Linked DNA regions of Homo sapiens: regions 1, 2, 3, 4, 5 and 6 are each linked to region 7. Evidence: promoter capture Hi-C in 16 types of primary human blood cells and fetal thymus (Javierre and others, 2016). All regions are on one chromosome and are shown on one strand. The core of a region is centred on a gene start or on the middle of the fragment in contact, and the rest is flanking DNA. Distances in the headings are between cores, read along the strand shown. Region 1 overlaps SHB (SH2 domain containing adaptor protein B). Region 2 overlaps SHB (SH2 domain containing adaptor protein B). Region 3 overlaps SHB (SH2 domain containing adaptor protein B). Region 4 overlaps SHB (SH2 domain containing adaptor protein B). Region 5 overlaps SHB (SH2 domain containing adaptor protein B). Region 6 has its middle 39 kb from the start of SHB. Region 7 holds the start of IGFBPL1 (insulin like growth factor binding protein like 1).

Region 1 (2,700 bases), core at 75-2,574, 440 kb after region 7:
TCATGATCCGCCCGCCTCGGCCTCCCAAAGTGGTGGGATTACAGGTGTGAGCCACTGCACCCGGCCTACTTATCCATTTTTTTTGAGACGGAGTTTTGCTCTTTTGCCCCGGCTGGAGTAAAGTGGCGCAATCTCAGCTCACTGCAACCTCCGCCCCCTGGGTACAAGCAATTCTCCTGCCTCAGCCTTCCCAGTAGCTGGGATTATAGGTGCCCACCACCACACCCCTCTAATTTTTGTATTTTTAGTAGAGACGGGGTTTTACCATGTTGGCCAGGCTGGTCTCGAACTCCTGTCCTCAGGTGATCCACCCCCCTTGGCCTCCCAAAGCGCTAGGAGTACAGGCGTGAGCCACCACATCTGGCCCATCTTCTTTCAAAATACAGATTTTGAGACTCTCCATAATAAAATGTTTAGGCATACTTCATTTTATTGTGCATTGCTTCATTGTGGTTTGCAGGTATTGCATTTTTTTTTTTTTTACAAAATGAAGGTTTGTGGCAACCTTCCTTCAAGTAAGTCTATCAGCATCATTTTTCCAACAGCGTGTGCTCATTTTGTGTCTCTGTGTCACATTTTGGTAATTCTCATATTTCAAACCTTTTTATTATTATAGCTGTTACGGTGACCTGTGATCAGTGATCTTTGATGTTACTGTTGTAATTGTTTTGGGGCACCACAAACTGCACCCACAGAAGATGGCGAACTTAATAAATGTTATGTGTGTTCTGACTGCCCCACTGACTGACCATTCCTTCATCTCTTCCCCTCTCCTTGGGCCTCTCTATTCTGTAAAACACAACAATGTTGAAATCAGGCCTATTAATAATTCAACAATGGCCTCTACATGTTCAAAGGAAAGGGAGAGTCACACATCTCTCACTTTAAACCAAAATCTTGGAAATAAGCCTAGTGCAGAAGTCATGTCAAAAACCGAGATCTGCCAAAAGGTAGGCTTCTTGCACCGAATAGTTAGCCAGGTTGTGGATGTAAAGGAAAAGTTGAAGAAAATTAAAAGTGTCACTCCTGCGAATACACAATTGAAAAGAAAGCAAAACAGCCTTGTTGCTATTAGAGAGAGAGTTTGGTCTAGATAGAAGCTCAAACCAGCCACAAATTCCCTTAAATCAAAGCCTAATCTGGAGCAAGGCCCTAACTCTTCAATTCTGTGAAGGCTGAGAGAGTGGAGGAAGCTTCAGAAAAGCTAACAGAGGTTGATTTCTGAGGTTTAAGGAAAGAAGCCATTTCCATAACATGGAAGTGTGTGGTGAAGCAGCAAGTGCTGATGTAGAAACTGCAGCAAGTTATCCAGAAGATCTAGCTGAGGTCATCGATGAAGGTGGCTATGCAAAACAACAGATTTTCAGTGTAGACAAAGCAGCCTTCTATTGGAAGAAGATGCCATCTAGGACTTTCAGAGCCATAGGGAAGTCAATGCCTGGCTTCAAAGCTTCAAAGGACAGGCTGCCTCTCTTGTTAGGGACTAATGCAGCTGGTGATTGTAAGTTGAAGCCAGTGCTCATTTGCCATTCTGAAAAATCCTGGAGCCCTTAAGAATTATGCTAAATCTACCCTGCTCGTGCCCTGTGAATGGAACAACAAAGCCTGGATGGCAGTTCCTCTGTTTACAGCATGGTTTACTGAATATTTTAAGCCCACTTTTGAGACCAACTTTAAGGAAAAAAAGATTCCTTTAAAGATACTACTGCTGATTGACACTGTTCTTGGTCACCCAAGAGCTCAGCTGGGGATGTACGAGGAGATGAATGTTGTTTTCATGCCTGCTAACACAACATCCATTCCGCGGCCCATGGATCAAGGAGTAATCTCAACTTTGAAGTCTTATTATTTAAGAAATACATCTCATAAGGCTATAGCTGCCAGAGATAGTGATTCCTCTGATGGACCTGGGCAAAGTAAACTGAAAACCTTCTGGGGAAGATTTACTGTTCTAGAAGCCATTAAGTACATTTGTGATTCATGAAAGGGGTCAAAATAGCCACATTAACAGGAGTTTGGAAGAAGAGTCCAGTCCTCACAGATGACTTTGAGGCCTTCAAGACTTCAGTGGAGGAAGTAACTGCAAATATGATGAAAATAACAAGAGAACTAGCATTAGAAGTGGAGTCTGAAGATGTAACTGAATTGCAGGAATCTTATGATCAAACTTGAACAAATAAAGAGTTGCTTCTTATGGATGAGCAAAGACAGTTTTCTTGAGATAGAATCTATTCCTGATGAAGATGCTGGGAACATTGTTAAAATGACAACATAGGATTTAGAATAGTACATAAACTTAGTTGATGAAGCAGCAGCAGAGTTTGAAAAGATTGACTCCAATTTTGAAAGAAGTTCTGCCGTGGGTAAAATGTTATAAAACAGCCTTTCGCTAAGAGAAATCTTTCGTGAAAGGAAGAGTCAATCTATGTGGCAAATTTTATTGTCTCATTTTAAGAAATTCCCACAGCTGGGGGGAGGGGCATAAAAAATTTTCCACAGCCACCTCAGCCTTCAGGAACTACCACCCTGATCAGTCGGCAGCCGGCAACATCAAAGCAAGACCCTCCACCAGCAAAAAGATGACTCACTGAAGGCTTAGATGATTGTAAGCAGTTTTTGGCAATAAAATATTTTTAAAATTAAGGTTCTACATTTTTTTAAGGCAGTGGTATTGCACATTTAATAAACTACAGTATAATA
Region 2 (2,700 bases), core at 12-2,511, 470 kb after region 7:
ATTTCAGTGGGGAATTACATTGTTGACTAGGACGTTACTAGTTTTTATCCAATTTATCTGGTATGAAACCGATTTTTTTTTCCCAATAAAGCTAAACAGCAGTTCATTAAGTTTCTTCATTTAATCACTTATTGAGCACCTGTTATGTTGCCGGTAATGGGCTAGGTATGGGGGAAGGGGCACATGATACAGCCCCTACCCTCAGGGGGCTCACCGGGAGCCAGGGTAGGACATGCAGTTAGGGTGCTAAGATCAAGGTGAGTCTTGGGAGAGGTGAGGTCCAGGAAGGCTTCCTGAAATAGGTGACCTCTGGAGGGTAAGTGGTATTAGTGAGGTGAAGAGATTGGTGGACCTGAGGCTGGACAAGCAGCCGGGTCCTAGAGAGCCTTTTGGGTTGTGCCGAAAAGCTTGGGCTCCCTCCACAATCATGTTCTGTGCTCCATGCCTCTCTGCTCACCTTCTGTGTCGGGATGTCGATTGTAGAGATTTATATTGGCAGAAATCCCCCAATCCTGATTTTAGCCAGTGGAGCCCCAGGATGTCAGGAGTGAAAGTGACTTATAATTCATCTGGTCCCTCGGTCTCCTGAGCCTGTGGCAAAACTAAGCCTAGAACCTCACTTCCAGCTTAGTCCCCTTCCTATGCCAGGGCAAGCCGCAGCCCTTCAACGCTGGCAGCCCTATGGGCCAGGATGCCTGCTGAGTTGTATCCTCTCTATTCCTGACAACCAGAAAATTAGCAGCAGGGAGGCATCATGGAGAAGTGCAGGCTAGTCCCATGCTCCCTGACCACATCCCCTTCTGTGCCCATCCCAATGGGGGCATCACCCTCCCCCAAGCCAGAAATCTGGGCATCACACAGCAGTTATCCCGGACTCACTCCCACAAGTAGTCAAGCTTCTACATCCCTCCCGTCATTGAGGGGGTCAGCCTCCATCACCTTTCCCTGACTGGTCTTCCCGTCTTCAGGATTGACCCCAAACCCACCCTCCACCAGCACTCAGAGAGGTCTCTAAAGCCCATTCTCTGATTATCCCCATCTATAAGTTCAAGTCCAAGCTCTTTAGAAAGGGGCTCCAGGATGACATGGCCCCAATTTGTCTGTCTAGCCCCAGTGCTCTCCCCTGCCCAAGGTCACCCATGGAGGGCTCTGCAAAGTAGGGGCTCGGGTAAGAACCTGCTTCACCTCTTTCTCTCCTTCTCCCAACCCCCTGTCCAAGACCATATGTCCCATGATTGGTTGCCATCAGGGTGCCGTCATTCAGCCAGAACCCCACTGGGAGATCCAGGCTACTGGAAGGCCAGCGAGGGGTAGATGCTGGTGGTGATGTGTGTGCTAGGGCCCCAGCTCCAGGTTTTAGGCCACTATCACAAAAGCCCCCTTATTAGCTGATGGGAAAGGGCCTTCTCACTCTCCAGCCCCAGGACCTGTCCCCTGGGAAGGCCTTGAGGTCATTGCTGTCTGTGTGTAGTTGGACACAGGAAAGAACTGTGGCCAGAAGGAAGGGCAGGAACCCCCAGCGAGTCCTCACTCTGCCTCCTCTCCACACCACCAGCCCTGGCATCACGGAGCTGTGGGTGTCTCTAGGTTAAGGCATGGCCTCCATGCTGCTTTCTGGAAGCTTAATTAGGGCCTTTGGTGAGTCTTCCTCTCATAGGTAAGGCCAGCCCATCCTTCCAGCGCTTAGGTCAACAGCCTGTGGTCACCAGTAGTCGTCCTTCTCTGATGCTGCACTTCAGCCTGTGGTCACCCGTAGTCCTCCTCTCATGGTGCACTTTGCATGCACAGGCGAGTCCTGCCATCTCTGCCTGCAGAATGTGGCTGGATCTGACCACTGGCGGGCACTGCCTCGCTGCCCTCCTGTGTGCCCGTGTACACATGCTCTCTGTCCCTCTAATTAGCCAGCTATACTTTCTAGAGCAGTTTTAGGTTCACAGCAAAATCAGACAGAGTCCAGAGTGTTCCCATACACCCCTTGCCTCCATCTCTTTTCAGCACAGCAATCCTGTAAGGAAGCGCCCAGTCAGAACGGCTCTCCACGTCTCTCAGAACAAAGCCAGAGTCCTTCCCAAGACTAGGAAGCCCAGCTTCCTTCCCAACTCCCTTCCAGTCACTCTGGATCATTTTGTGTCTCACTCTAGGCACAGTCCCACCCCAGGGCCCTTGAACTTGTTCTTCCTTCTGCCTGGAGTGTCCTTCCTACAGATGTTCCTTCCTCCCTTCAGATATTTATTCAGATGTCACCTTTGGAGAGGGCTTTCCTGCCCTGCTGTATTTTTCTCAGTGGCACTTGTCCCCAGCCACTGATAGGCAGATTGATTTATTGCCTGTCTCTCCTCACGAGGACCCTGCGCTCCATAAGGCAGGTATCTCTGTCTGTTGTGCCCATCACTATTTTCCCAGCCTTGAAGTGTGCCTAGTACATGTGGATAAGTGGTTAGGAGTGTCATCGCGGGTGGACTACCTGTTGGTGTCACTGCTGGGTAGCAGGCTGGCCACACGCTCAGCACAGTCCAGAAAGTGGGTGGGTCCGGTGTCTCTGGAGCCTTCTGTTGGCAAGAGCCTCCCTTCCCACTGTTTTCCAAAGTGGTTGATGGAGAAAGAGTGTCTTAGAGGGACAGAAATGCCCCACAGTCCCTGATAGGGAAGATGGTTCAGTGGCTGAGATGTAGAACAGGTTCATCACGCTCCTCGGTTTCA
Region 3 (2,806 bases), core at 202-2,701, 480 kb after region 7:
GGTAGTGTTGGGCAAAGGGACTGAACATCTCTGAGCCTTGGTTTTCTCATCTATAAAATGGGTTTCACAGGTGTATTAATGAAGACACAATATATGTGAAGTGCTTAGCATATGCTCCAGCATATAGTGAGTGCTCTATCAGTGGTAGCTCAAATGTCTTTATTATGGACCTCAGAGAGCCACGGGTTGTTGGGGAAAGAGCTCGGTGTGTCCCAGTGCATTGCAAATTGTCTGGGTTCAACCTGGAAGTCTCCATCTGTGCCCACATCCACTGTCCTTTACGATGATGGGTTCTAGATTTTATTGGCTACAGCTGGAAAGAATGCTAGAGAATCTCACAGAACTGGAGTCCAATCCAGGCTCCCCTCTTCCTGGATAACCTGTCTTGAACCTCTCACCTCTCTTGCACTCTGTACGTTGTGCTTTGGTGTGACCTTGGATGAATGAGTGAACTTCTCTGACCTCCTAGTTGCTCATCAGGAGCTGGAGATGATGACCACTCAACAGGTATCCTTTTTCATCACCATGCTGCTGCCCCTCCAGCTCTCCTGCCCATCTTCCGAACTTGTGGTCTGGCCTCCTCATCTCATAGGGAAGCATGTTGGCAGCCAGTCAAGGTAGCAGCTCCAGGAATACCCTAAGCAGAAATCTTGGGGTTTAGGGAACAGAAAGAGACTTTTTCAATTTTCTGGTCCAATATCTTGAACAAGTGGAGATACTGAGGCCCAGAAAGAGGAAGAAGCTTGCCTGCCTCTGGCTTTCCCAGCAGGCAAGCTGTTTGCTAGCAGCATTTGAGCCAGCCTGAGTCAGGGCAGCAGGGGTGGTGGGGGAAGAGGGGGTCTGTCTCTTTGCTCTTATCGCATGGAGGATTTCATGTCCTTTCAGGGCTCATGGAGGAAAAATGAACTTTCTGCTCAATTAGCGTGCTTCGTGTTTTCTCCTTCTAAAAGGTTTAAAAGAAATGCCACAATTAGAAGCCACTGCTGTAGGCAAAACAGAGACTCCTCAAACACTCTTTGCAGAGGACTAAATGAGAACAGTGAACTTTAGAATGTGCAGATGCCTTGCAGGATAAGAGAGTGCACCATTGAGGGGACACTGTGAGGAATATTAGATGACATTTCCCTTTATTCAGAATTACTGAGAAAATGTGCCCTGCTGGTGGTAAAACATTGCCAAGGACGCCACCCTCAACATTAGACTGGCACCTCTTCTGGACTCTGAGCCTGGTGCTTTGGTGATTCTGGTGCAGTGGGGGTGGAGAGTGTAGGAACAGCCCTGGGCCTATGCCCAGGAGACCTGGGTTCAAATCCTAGCTCTGCCTCTGACAAGTTACGGGATCCCAAACTAGTCACCATGATTTGCACCCTTCCTTTCTGAAGGGTTCAGACAGACCCTAGTTTGAGTTCTGCATATTCTCTGAGCCCTCTGTTTACTCTCTAGCACAGCAAGTGTAAATCCTGCCCCGCCACCTGCTCTGGGCTGCTGTAACATGTGAGTGAGGTGATACGGGTCAGCATGCCCAGCACAGGGCCTGATATTTGGGAATAGCCAGCTTTCACACTGTGATAGTATGTTCAAGAAGAGTAGCAACCATTGCCATCATTTTTACAGATAAAGAAACTGGTGTTCACATTACGTCACAGTTAATGAGTAAAGAGATGAGATTGCAACACAGCTCGAGGCCTCTTTCTACCTTGTGGGGTCTCTCGGAATAGAAACACCCCCATTCCTCCCTAGCAGGCCCTGAGAAGCCCAGCCAATGGCCAACTAGTTCTCTGGACCAAAGCTGGATTTTCTGACAGGACCTGTGACCATGAGCCCTGTGCCCAGCATTTCTCAGACCCCTTTCCCCAGGCAGTGGTGACATGGAGAAAGCCCAGAGACCTGAAACCAGAGGGGCTGGTTCTGAGCCAACAGTGTCAGCATCCATGACCCAAATAGAAGAGTCTAGTTTCTTCTCTGGGTCCAGCCCTCAAGGAGCTGTGAAGAAAGCGCAACTCATTGCTCCTACTTTACAGAAGAGGAAACAGAGGCTCAAAGGGGCTTAACCTGTCTTAAGGCCGTGTTGTCAGGGAGGGGCAGAGGCTGAGCCTGCCCAGCTCCTGGACCACTGTTCTTTCCTGACCCTTCTCAGCCATTTGCTCCAGCTAAGCTTAGAAGTTCTCCATTTGCACTCAGGTGCTAGGCTGATGATGCTGAGACTATCTGGTAGCAAACTAGGAGGCCAAGGCCAATTCAGAGGGGCCAGTGGCAGGCGGCCTACATACCTGATGAGAGAGAAGTTTAGGAAGCCCTATCTGGCCCTGGGTGTGTGATATAGATCAGGAGAGAAGGACTAGGGCAGTGGGAGTAGAAAGGAGAGGTGTGTGGAGGTAGAATTGATGAGAGGGAGGAGGAGTGAGGAGTCAAGGACCACATCCAGATTTCGGAGCAGCTGGGTGGATAGTGGCTCTCCCGGCTGCAACGTAGACCTGGAAAAGACCAGGAAAACAGACTCCCTGCAGCTCAGCTTCCCCCTTCCCAATGCTGCCTAAAACGCAGAGGCAAGAGGTGCCTGCTCTCATTCTGCCTCACTCTGCCAGTTCACGGCCCAGTGCACCACCCCCCAACCCGGCAGTGCCAGACGTGCCCGTCAACAGGCTGGGGTTCCCTCCCTGGACTGCTGCGTCTCCCGTCTGAGCCAGGGATGGAGCAGTGCCCTTTGTTTTACCGGAGCTCCTTGGTCTTCTCCAGCATCTGAGCAGCCGCGATTACATTTCCAGCCGGTTTTTAATTGTCTCGTATCAGCCCACATAAATCTGCC
Region 4 (2,700 bases), core at 105-2,604, 500 kb after region 7:
GGGAGCCTTAGATGGTTTTGACCTGAGGGCTAATGTTCTGGGGACATCTGGGTCAGGACAGCAGCTCCCCATGCACCTTTCAAGCTAAGGTAAACCAGAAATCCCCTCTGTGTCTGGAGTCCTGTAACTGGGTCCCACACATTAGTCCCAAAGGCCAATTTCCATCCTTCTCCTGCATAAATATTATATGCAAGTATTTTTAAGTCATTTCATCATGAAAAGAAGCGATTTAACATAACTATTACCCAGGATTCTTCATGAAATATGCATCAAGCAATTAGGTCTAAAAGCGAGAGGTGAGGCCTCGCACCCTGCTCGGCGGCCGGCAGCTGCAGGCTGAGTAATGTTTTATTAAAGCCCGTGATTGCGCTGCAAGGTGGGGCCTGTTATTAGCCCTGCGTGCCCGGCACATTTGATAATCCTGATGATGAGGAGGTGCTTTTTGTGATGATAATGAGCGATCTGAACGCCTGTGACAGCTCCAGCACCCCGGCCTCTGCCAGCCTTACAAGACTCATTAGACAGGTCACCCACCAGAGACACCTCTCATTGTGACTTTGCCCTCGCAAGATGTCCTATCAAAGGAGATGTGGCTGATGCAGGAGCTTGGCAGGCATAGCAGCCTGTTGAAGCTCCCCGGGGGCAATGCCCTCCCTGAACGACGATGGTGCTGATGACGGTGCCGAGGTGTGGAAGCCCATGCTGCCTTGAAGAAGGGTGGGAGGAGATGTGGCTCGGAGCCCGGCTCAGCTGGCTCGGGATGCGGGGCCGGGGCTCTGGGTTCACCTGCAGCCTGCCTTGCTGTGCGCCTTGGGCCAGGGTAGTGTACTCTCTGGCCTCAGTTTCCTCCACGGTACCCCAGGGGAGTGAGAGGTGACCCCCAGGCTGCTTGCAGCTCAGAATACATGCTGCCTGGAGCAGCCATACTCCTTGCCTGATGAACCCCTCTGTTCTCCACAGAAGTGCTCATGCTTCCTTTGCTCATGCTCGCGTCTCCTTTTGTGTGAAGGTGGGAGTCACTGAAGCCACTCCTGGCAGCTGCTTTTAAATCTTCAACTGTTAGATGGCATCTCCCTCATGGGGACCTTAACCAATGAGAATGTATTGTCACAGCATGTCTCCTGGCTGTGTGTGGACAAGGCGTCACCTGACCCTTGCATTGGTCGAGGATTGGCAGATAGTCTCGGGACCTCGGACCCCTGGGGGGGCGGTCACCACCCTGCCTCTCAGGCTGGGGGGCTCCACCAATCAGAACATGCCATTTCCAATCCTCGGCACAGCCCCTTGTGTGGGTGCCACACATTGTCTTTTACTCCCAGCCCCTCTGCTGTCTCTGACCTGCCGTCAGCCCTGCACCATGGGCGCTGTGGAGGCGGAAGATCAGCGTGGAGGGGATGTTTGCTCAGAGTCTGACGCCTCTCATCCGCCCCCTCTGCCTGGCTTCACATGGAACACTGAGGGTTACATGAGGCCCTCTCTCAGGTCTGGGGAGTGCTGAGGTCAGGAGCACTGACTCTGGGCATCTGCTGCTGATAATCACTGTGTGACTTTGGGCCAGACACCTCCCCTTTCTGCACCTCGGTGCTTCAGGACATAGAGCCTGGCCTACAGGAAGGATTGTCCCTGAAGGCAATCCTGGCCAATGCCCCAGTGAAAGCAGGACTGGGGATGAGGGCAGCGGTGGAGGGAAGGTGTGAGGCTGCTTGCAGACCCCTTCCTGCAGGAAGCCCTCAGCGGGTAGGCAGCAGATTATGTTTTGCACATGTGGAATCCAGGATCTAGGGCTGGAAGTACCCCCCAGGGTCATCTAGTCAGCCTCCCTGTGGATGCAGCAGGAGAAGGGACAGAGCCCAGCAAGGCACAAGGATAGCCTGAGGGCCAGGGAACCCACGGGGTGCAGTGCTTGAGCCCAGGAGGGTCAGCATGTGAACGCGCCTTTCTCCCTCTGCCTGAGAATGGTCAGGCCACAGACTAGAGGTTCATGGAGCCCAAGTGCTGGTCCCAGCTCTGCCTTGGTCTCTGAGCTTCATGACCAGTCTGCCCCATCGGCACAGCCTGGCTCAGGGTGGTAAACTCGTGGGTGCTTACACAGGCGAGATAGGAGTGTGTTGGGGGTGATAAACAGCAGGCTCAGACAGGCAGGAGGGACTTCCCGGGGACGTCTAGACTCTCTTCAGCCTGGCAGCTGCCCCACCTCGCTATCTGTCGGCAGCCAAGGTACAGAGGACATTGTGTGGCTTTTAGTACTTGGTGGCCATTCTAAGCCCCTAACCTGGGAACAGAGGAGCTTAGCTTCTGCTTCGGACTCTGTCAGAGCCATTGCTGCTATCACTGTCCACTTCCCTTGCCAGATGCCGTAGAACAAATTCATATGAAATGTTGCCTTCACCCATGTGAGTTACTCTCCTAACCTTGAAAATGAAACTGGCTTGTTCCCCTGCAGCTTCATACCTGCACACTGGCAGACTCAGTTCCCGCCAGCGGCTGTGACCCTCTGCCTGACACCTCCTCCACTCTGTCCCCCAGGTATAGATCTGTGAGAATCACAAAGCCTGCTGGTCCAGCACCCCAAAAACGTAAGGCCACTCAGTGCATGCACGCAGAGGGGAATGATGTGCCCAGGGTCATACCCTCCTCCCTGCTGAGTGTCCCTGGCACCTGCAGCCCCTCCTTACCAGCCCTGCTCTCTCGCCCTTCCAC
Region 5 (2,700 bases), core at 38-2,537, 420 kb after region 7:
AGAAATACAGGAATAGGAATGTGAAATGGAGGAGTTCACCTCCCCAGGCCTGCCTCAGCCTTGCATTTCAGAATCCCAGAGAGACATTAAAAGATCTGAAAGTGCAGAAACTGATGGAGATACCTGTCCTGAAATAGGCTCAGGGAGACTCAGATTAATCTGCAGCAAAGCTCCTGCATCCTGTACCCGCCCAGCTCCCTGCGTGCTGGGCAGGGTGTGGAAACCTTGCGGAAACCCACACTGCAGGGGTGTGGCACGATTAGGAAGTCATTTAGGAAAACAGGCCCGCCTGGGAGTGTGGGATGGAATCTTGCAGCGCCTAGCAAGAGGCAGGGAGACAGGTTCTATGGTTCCGAGGCTATAGCAATCATCTAGGCCAGGTCAGGTGCTGTGGAGTCAGGGTAGGTGTGGTGGAAGGGCCCACCAGCCAGTGGGTGCTGTGTGGAAGGGAGAGGAGAGGGTGGGATGACACCACCAGTGGGGTCCTCTGTTAGTGGGAGGATGGGAAAGTCAGTCACCTGATGGGGCCTGTCCTATCTGAGTAGGGAAGGGAGGTTCCTGGGGAGGAGTCAGAGTTGAGATGTGGTCACCTTTGAGGTGGGAGCAGCCAGCTAGGTGCTTGGGAGAGATTGAATGCATTCATGTGTTAGGGAAGGTGCTGGAGTCAGATCAGAGGAGGGCCCCAAACTATTCCAGGGACCTGGGGGCCACCATGAGAAGTCCTGGCCTGTGTTTCTGGTCTGGGGAGAGGAGTAGTATGCAGGGAGTGGCCAAGGAGACAGCCGGCCACAGTTCCTGCCTTTCAGAAGCCTGAAGGAGGAGATTCCGTGATTTGCCCCACACCCTATTATTTGACTAATTAATTAGTACTCTCCTCTAAGTAGGGCTCAGGCTGGCTTTCTGGAAACTTACAGAGATGACAGCAGTCTGTGTTTAAAGGGTACCTTTTATATATGATACCAGGACTCTCCCTAAGGCTCCGAGAGGAAGCAGATGAGATGATTTCCATTTTGCAGATGAGAAAGCTGAGTCCTGGTGGCTGACAGGACTTCTGGCCCCTTCTCCCTACAGGGATCACTGCCTGGTGATGCAAGGGAGGGATGCTGAGTAACAGCAGGTCTGAGTCCTCCCTTGGTGGCGGCAATGTAGCCGGTGCCTCAGGTTCAGTGCTCTTCCCCATCTCCTGGAGAGTCCTGCCTTCTCCCTTTCAGCCAGCTTGGCCCGTTTGCGTTCCTGTGGTTAGTGAGGGCTGGCTGTGGTCCTTTTCCAAAACAGGCAGCTGAGCAGAAGGAAATAAAATGCCACCTCTTCACTCTCCCTTTCAGGGTATAGGCGTGTAATTGTACCTGGCCACCTTAAAGCACCGAAAGAGGGGCCGTCTCCCAAGCCCAAGCCTCAACTTTTGGGCCTCTCTTTTCCTACTGCCCACGTCACCCCATTCTGTCCATATGCCGTCACAGCCCTCACCATGTCCACTGTGATGTATCTGCTAGACTGGGAACCCCTGGAGGGCAGGATGACAGGACAGGCCGGGGCCAGGGTGTCTTGTGCTCAGACTGTCGGTGCCCTGTGTTTGAGGTTTTGGCCTGGAACTTTCTGGTGAAGAATGTCCCCTCATCCAGAACTTGCTGGTTTTGGTGGAATGATGTGTGCACATGGTGAGTAAACATCCCCCACAAATCTCTCAGCTCCCAGAACTGGGTCTCATGCCTGCTGGGCCGGCTCACCTCTGCCCTGGCCAATGGGGCAGTGTGTATCCTGTCCCTGGCACCTCAGCTGATCTCTCACTTGCTGGCCTGTGGCCGTGTTCCTTCCCATCTGCTAAGCCTCGAGTCTCTGCGTGGACGCTGGCACATGCACTCATGTGCCCGTGCCCCCAGCCACACAGCCCTCCGTGAAGCTACCCTCTCTGGCAACTCCTCACCAGGTCGGGGGCCTTCCAAGTCTTCATGCTGCCCTAGTGGGCCTCTCTTGGCCCCTGGGTCCCCCTTCCCCACCCTCTGCCCCTCAGGCTGGGTTCTGGAGTCCTCAACTTCCTGAAGTGAATGGCCTTCATCATGCCTGCCTTCAGCTCTAGCCTCTTGCTGCCCAGTTCAGAACACCTCTGGCCTGGTCCCCCCACCTTTGCCAGCACAGCCCTGGGAGGGTGGGCTGGGGGGCGCCCACCTCCTCAGCAGATCTTTATTCACTCAGCTCCACCGCGGCCCTTCCCTTCCGAGTCCCACGCAGCCCCCAGCAGCTCAGGTTCACCTTCCCCAGAAGCCTCTGCATGCTTCAGGCTCCCGATCTGCTGCTTTCCCCAGGTGCCTGTGGCTCAAGGCAGAACCAGGCCAGCTGGCATTCAGTTTTCTGCTCAGGTGGTGTTTACTGAAGCCCTGTGCTCTCATGCCCTTCACAGCATCTCTCCTAAGCCTCCCTAAGGCCCAGGGAGGGAGCGCCTGGGTTGTTTCCATTTTCCAGTAAGAAACCTGGAGCAGAGGCTTCCGCAACAGCTGGGGGCCTGGGAGCACCTCCAGGAACCTGGGAGTTGTGTTCCAAAGCCCAGGCAGGAGCAGGGCAGGCAGTCAATGGGCCGGATGGACCCTGGGCTGAGGGAAGCACATGGGCCTGAGATAGATCCCCCGGGCCAGCTCCTGCCCTCCCCAGTAACAGAAGCAGAGGCCTGGAGCCAGGAGGCCCCCAGCAACAGCCTCACCACCC
Region 6 (2,785 bases), core at 132-2,631, 320 kb after region 7:
GGTGGAGGGGGGAATGCCAAGATTAAGATCAAGACCTCTGCTTCTGAGTATAGCCAAGAGAAAGAGCTCAGCCAGGCCCTCAACATCAGTGCCAGCAACAGCCCCTCTTGCTCACCACATTTTACACACACTTGCTTTCTTGCTTGGTCTCTGGGTCATGGCAATCTCCTTCCAACCTCAGGGCCTTCACGCCTGTTCCCTTTGCATGGAAGCTTAGCCCCCTTCTAGCTGGGCATCTACTTATTCTCTGTCAAGTTTCAGCTCCATAATGGGCTGGTTAGGTCCCTCCCCATAGCTCTATTCTCTTCCTTGTACCATTACCACAATTGTCATTCTGCATTTGTGTGAACATTTGTTTTACGCCCACCTCTCCTGCTTCACTGTAATCTCCAGAAAACCAGGTCTGTCTTGTTTATGGCCGGTACCCGGCACCAGCCGCAGAGCTTGGCATAACCGTGGGCTGAATAAATGAGGTGAGATCAATTACATGGAAAGGACCTAATGCTTAGTAGGTATTTTTCCACCATTTTTCCCCTTCCTCAGATCTCAGAGCTGATCCACCTCCCTGTGTTCAAGCTGATGATCTGATTGTGGCATCAGACTTTTAGAGCTGACCGAAGCCAAGAGAGGCTACGTGGCAGCACTTAGCTCAGCCTGCTTTGCTGGGGCTGTTTATGGAGGGAAAGCACAGGATTCATTTGGCTCTAATCAGGTTAGGATCAGAGCACAGGGACTAGGAAAGGAATGCTGGGCGTAAGATCCAGACCATGTGACTGGGGTGACCTGGGCACAGTCATGGGGAGGCCACACTAGCAGAGTCAGGTTTTCACACTGTAGCCCAGCTGGGGTACACAGCTTGTTTGCAGTAGAGTAGGGCCCAAAGCCCAGGCTCCTGACTCCTGGCACAGTGCTCCAAAGAGCCAACACATGGTGTTGGAAACAATCCCAGGCTGGGCTCTGTTTTCCCACTGCCCAAATCTCTTCCAGGGAGCAGGTCTTGGTATGGCAGAAGGGAGTGGATAAAGCCTTTTCTACAACTCTTTATCACCAGGGCAGGAGATCCAGAGCTGCTGCTACCTTGGGTCCAGCTCAGTGCAATGACAATATTCCTTACATCTTTACACTGCTTTGTTATCTCCAAAGCATTGTCACTTTTGTTTTTCAGCCTCACAGTAATCCTGTGAGGATAGGCAAGCAGCTGATTAACCTCTTATCACGCATGAGAAAACAGAGGCCCAGAGGGGCGTGTCAACTTGCCCAGACCTTCATAGCTGGTCAGTGGAAGAGCCAAGCCCGGAAGCCAGGCCTCCTGACTCCCAGTCCAGAGTTGGTTCAGTATTTTTCACACACAACTGTGACACTCAAATCCGTGTGGTTTCTTGTAGCACTTTCTAGTCTGTGGCATCTCAGCACTGTTGAGGATTAGACGAACAGCCAGGGGAGGAGATGATGGGGTGATGGCTGTGCTGGCATGGCCTCCCCATGGCTTTGGCTGTGGCTGGGCCCCAGTTTCCGCCACCCTAGTCATGTGGTCCGGATCTCGGGGTTCAATGTTTGTGTCCTAGCCTCTCTGCTCTGATCCTGACTCTGATGAAAGGCAAAACAGATCCTGTGCTCTTCCTCCATAAATAGCCCCAGCAAAGCAGGTAAGACAGCCATGAGAAAGCCTAGGGAGTGTTTTTGACGCAGTTGGAACCAGGGGTTACTGGTACTGAAGAGGAAATGCACTTTCTGGTTAAGAAGACTTTGGACTGTGAAACAAAGACAGAGAAAGAGAGTTCAGAACCACTTAAGAGTCTGATACAGGGCTCATTAAGAACGAAGAATGATACTGGGAAAAGCCCAGCTTGGGGGTTGAGTTCTGACCTCCAGTCTGGTTTTCATGCTGTAACCTTAAGGAAGTCATTATGCGTCTTTGGGCCCTTTTTTTTTTTTTTCTTCTCCTTTTGAGACAAAGTCTCACTCTGTCACCCAGGATAGAGTGCAGTGGCACAATCTTGGCTCACTGCAACCTCCACCTTCCGGGTTCAAGTGATTCTCCCGCTCAGCCTTCTGAGTAGCTGAGATTATAGGCATGCACCACCATGCCTGGCTAATTTTTGTATTTTTAGTAGAGATGGGGTTTCTCCATGTTGACCAGGCTGGTCTTGAACTCCTGACCTCAAGTGATCCACCTGCCTCGGCCTCCCAAAGTGCTGGGATTACAGGTGTGAGCCACTGCACCCGGCCAAAACTGTGAGGGAGGCAGGGAGCCCATCACCCTCCTGGTGGTGGCCGGTCCCCTGCCCCGTCTTTGGGCTTTAATTTCCTTCTTTGTAAAATCGCAAGGGGAAAGGAAGGAATCAAGATATCAAGTGTCCGATTTTCCCACTTTGTCCTGACTGACCTGCACATTCTGTGACAGTGTCCATACATACATTACATGAATGATCACTTGGTAAAAAAATCCAAAGAAAGTAAGTCTTTGTTATATGGGACACCCTAAAATATAGTGTTTACGAGCTCCTTCTCTCTCAGGAGCCAGCCTCCCTGGGTTCAAATCCAAGCTTGCCACTTATTAGCTATGTGACCTTGGGCAAGTTACTAAACCCCTCTGTGTTTCAGTTTCCTCATACTCAATACAAGAATAATATTTGTACCATTGCATAGGGCTGTTATGGATCAAAGAACTTAAGAGAACTATAAGGCACTTAGGATAGAGCCTGACATATGGTAAACACTCATTAAATGTGACTCATCGTTACCTAGCAAAAGCTGATACTCTCCATTCCACTTAAACGAAATT
Region 7 (2,700 bases), core at 183-2,682:
CGTGGACCAGGCAGATGGCCCTCCTCTGACCACCACATAAAGTGGCCTCAGAAGAGGCTCCTTTCTGGGGATAAGAAGACTGCAAACTGGGAAGGAACTGGGCTTGAAAAGCAAAATGAACCCCACCCAAGAACGGTGTAGCTGGTCTTCCCAGGCTGCAAGAGGCTTTCTCCATCTCCAGGAGTTCAGCAAAGAAAAAACAATAGAGCACAAGACACATGAGGGGTGGCCAGTAAAGGCAGGAAAAGTCTCCTATAAAACCTGCTCAGCGAGTCCCTCCCTCCATCCAGTGCATTTACCCAGCAACACATCAAATCCCAGCAGCCAAGACTCTCTTAGGTTTCTCGTCTGGGTGCCCTGCCAGAACTCAGGCAGGATGGTGTGCACAGAGCCTGGCCCAGAGAAGGCGCAACGGCGGCATGAATAACTGACTACAAGAAACTGCATCTTTCCAACATGCATTCCCCAGTAAGCCACAGGTACACTGACCCTTGTGCACCAAGACTTCATCAAAGCATTATTCGTATTAACCAAAGGATGGAAAATAAGTGGTTAAATAACTGCAACTAAACCCTGTGGAAAGGCCACTCTGTATGAACTCCAAAATATATCACCATATCTCATCACAACAAAGTCACTGTGGACGGAGATGTACCATGACTTTATGCAGCATTAAGAAACACACTCACAGAGCCAATGAACTATGCTCCCATTGATTGTATAAGAAACCCAGTTTCACAGATGACAAGAGGTGGGGAAACTGTGAAACACTGTAAGTGCAAAAACCAAGTGCAGACTAATGTGTATGGCACGCTACTCTGTGTGTGTGAGAGAGAAACAGAGTGTGTGTGTTTTAAAGGAAGGGGCTTTTTTAGGCACATGTACTTTTATAGGCATAGAGAAAATTTCTGAAAAGATATACAAAAACCCGATAGCAAGAGTGGCCTCTGGAAGCCGAGTTGGAGGATGGGGATACAAGGTGGTAGGGTAACCCTCTTTTCATCCTTAGATGTATATGTAAAATCTACATTTTAAACCATATATTCTCTTTATAAAATAAAACTTTGAAAACTACTGAATGCAAAATAAAATTAAATAAAATAGCGCATCCTTCTGGGAGGATTTACGGGCATACTATCTGGAGCCAGCCTTGGATCCGGAGACCGTACGGTTATCCAATCCTGACTCTGCCATAGCGACCTCGGGCAAGTTGTCGCCCCGACTGGGTCTCGGTTCCCTCAAGAGTCCAATCGGAGGTCGGAGAGCTGCTCTCGGGGCGACCCTCCAGCTCGGAGACCCGGGCCGCGGGCACCGCGCGGGTCCCGGGCTGGAGCAGCGGTCTGCGGGCGCCCCGCGGTGCAGGCCCGGCCAATCAGCGGCCGCGGGGCGGGAGCGGTGACTGCTCGGCGGGCGCGGAGCGGAGCGCGAAGCAGAGGCGCCGCCGCTGTCCCGGAGCAAGCCATGCCGCGCTTGTCTCTGCTCTTGCCGCTGCTGCTTCTGCTGCTGCTGCCGCTGCTGCCGCCGCTGTCCCCGAGCCTTGGGATCCGCGACGTGGGCGGCCGGCGCCCCAAGTGTGGTCCGTGCCGGCCAGAGGGCTGCCCGGCGCCTGCGCCCTGCCCGGCGCCCGGGATCTCGGCGCTCGACGAGTGCGGCTGCTGCGCCCGCTGCCTGGGAGCCGAGGGCGCGAGCTGCGGGGGCCGCGCCGGCGGGCGCTGTGGCCCCGGCCTGGTATGCGCGAGCCAGGCCGCTGGGGCAGCGCCCGAGGGCACCGGGCTCTGCGTGTGCGCGCAGCGCGGCACCGTCTGCGGCTCCGACGGTCGCTCGTACCCCAGCGTCTGCGCGCTGCGCCTGCGCGCTCGGCACACGCCCCGCGCGCACCCCGGTCACCTGCACAAGGCGCGCGACGGCCCTTGCGAGTTCGGTGAGTCAGGGTCGGGGATTGGGTGGGTAGAGAAGGAGGGATTCCAACCCTCTGGGGTGTGGAGCGAAGGATCCCCCTGCCCAGTGGTGGACGGCGCTGCCTGGCACTCAGTTTCCCCTTAGGGAGCAGTATTTCATATCTCTCCTCGTGCTCAGAGAGACTGGGGCGAGAATCCTTGGAGACGCCACTCACTGTGCTAGTCGAATTTTTGGTGAGCCTGCTACCCCTTTTGGTACTTAAGTACCTGCTGATGCAGTCACTTATTTGTAGGCATGGTATGTTTGCCCAGCAGGAGACTGGGAGTTAAGGAGGGGGATCCGAGTTCCCAGGTATCCAGCGCTAGGTGGATTGTTTGAATGGGGAGGAAGGGAAGTTGAGGTTGGGGGAGGAAGGGAAGTAGAGGATAGGGGAGGAAGGGAAGTTGAGGATGCAGGAGGAGGATGAGTTCCAGACTGGGGAATCAGTAGTCACCAGGCCACAGCACCAGAGCACCAGGGCCCCCGGTGTGGGAAGGGGCTGAGCTGGGATGCTGAGGGAGCTCCATCCAGGAGAAGTAAGACCTTTGGAGACGTAAGGTCTGAAAAGATTGTGGTGCTATTAGGGGCAGACTCAGGTTTCGTGCTTCTAAAACATATATAATTTGGAGAGTCCTGCCTTAAGTAAAGGAATAGAACTGCTAGGGACTTAGAAACTTATTATGAAATGCTAGGGACTTAGAAACTTAAGCTTCATTAACATCACAGTAAAATAATCTCTGAGTGCTATAGTTGCCCACCCTC

The links. The method cuts DNA at HindIII sites, captures the fragments that hold promoters and counts their contacts. A CHiCAGO score of 5 or more calls a contact.
Region 1: a contact is called between a fragment that was not itself captured here and the fragment with the promoter of IGFBPL1 in region 7, in 1 of 17 cell types (total CD8 T cells). The highest score is 6.8, in total CD8 T cells.
Region 2: a contact is called between a fragment that was not itself captured here and the fragment with the promoter of IGFBPL1 in region 7, in 1 of 17 cell types (total B cells). The highest score is 5.0, in total B cells.
Region 3: a fragment that was not itself captured here is called in contact with the fragment with the promoter of IGFBPL1 in region 7 in 6 of 17 cell types (naive B cells, activated CD4 T cells, naive CD4 T cells and 3 more); the score reaches 8.9 in naive B cells.
Region 4: a fragment that was not itself captured here is called in contact with the fragment with the promoter of IGFBPL1 in region 7 in 13 of 17 cell types (naive B cells, total CD8 T cells, naive CD8 T cells and 10 more); the score reaches 22.0 in naive B cells.
Region 5: a contact is called between a fragment that was not itself captured here and the fragment with the promoter of IGFBPL1 in region 7, in 2 of 17 cell types (naive B cells and total CD8 T cells). The highest score is 5.7, in naive B cells.
Region 6: a contact is called between a fragment that was not itself captured here and the fragment with the promoter of IGFBPL1 in region 7, in 1 of 17 cell types (naive CD4 T cells). The highest score is 5.2, in naive CD4 T cells.

Annotation. Positions count from the first base shown.
Region 1 is chr9:37,979,877-37,982,576 of GRCh38, reverse strand. All of the region lies in intron 2 of SHB (SH2 domain containing adaptor protein B), which reads left to right. Among named protein-coding and RNA genes, the nearest start is that of SLC25A51, 77 kb to the right of the region's middle. The HindIII fragment of the contact is 257 bases long and covers 1,196-1,452 here.
Region 2 is chr9:37,957,370-37,960,069 of GRCh38, reverse strand. The region is part of intron 3 of SHB (SH2 domain containing adaptor protein B); the gene reads left to right. Among named protein-coding and RNA genes, the nearest start is that of SLC25A51, 55 kb to the right of the region's middle. The HindIII fragment of the contact is 725 bases long and covers 899-1,623 here.
Region 3 is chr9:37,938,616-37,941,421 of GRCh38, reverse strand. All of the region lies in intron 5 of SHB (SH2 domain containing adaptor protein B), which reads left to right. Among named protein-coding and RNA genes, the nearest start is that of SLC25A51, 36 kb to the right of the region's middle. The HindIII fragment of the contact is 1,413 bases long and covers 745-2,157 here.
Region 4 is chr9:37,921,955-37,924,654 of GRCh38, reverse strand. The region is part of intron 5 of SHB (SH2 domain containing adaptor protein B); the gene reads left to right. Among named protein-coding and RNA genes, the nearest start is that of SLC25A51, 19 kb to the right of the region's middle. RefSeq lists enhancers at 1,049-1,343, 844-1,455, 2,202-2,301. The HindIII fragment of the contact is 3,831 bases long and covers 1-2,700 here.
Region 5 is chr9:38,003,904-38,006,603 of GRCh38, reverse strand. The region is part of intron 2 of SHB (SH2 domain containing adaptor protein B); the gene reads left to right. Among named protein-coding and RNA genes, the nearest start is that of SHB, 64 kb to the left of the region's middle. The HindIII fragment of the contact is 5,190 bases long and covers 1-2,700 here.
Region 6 is chr9:38,106,596-38,109,380 of GRCh38, reverse strand. No RefSeq gene overlaps it. Among named protein-coding and RNA genes, the nearest start is that of SHB, 39 kb to the right of the region's middle. RefSeq lists an enhancer at 1,391-1,570. The HindIII fragment of the contact is 2,334 bases long and covers 215-2,548 here.
Region 7 is chr9:38,423,186-38,425,885 of GRCh38, reverse strand. It overlaps IGFBPL1 (insulin like growth factor binding protein like 1), which reads left to right and starts at 1,432. Exons shown (of 5, transcript NM_001007563.3): 1 at 1,432-1,921. The coding sequence starts at 1,462. It overlaps LOC105376041 (a long non-coding RNA gene), which reads right to left and starts at 1,275. Exons shown (of 8, transcript XR_007061487.1): 1 at 1,136-1,275. RefSeq lists an enhancer at 1-387. The HindIII fragment of the contact is 4,043 bases long and covers 1-2,649 here.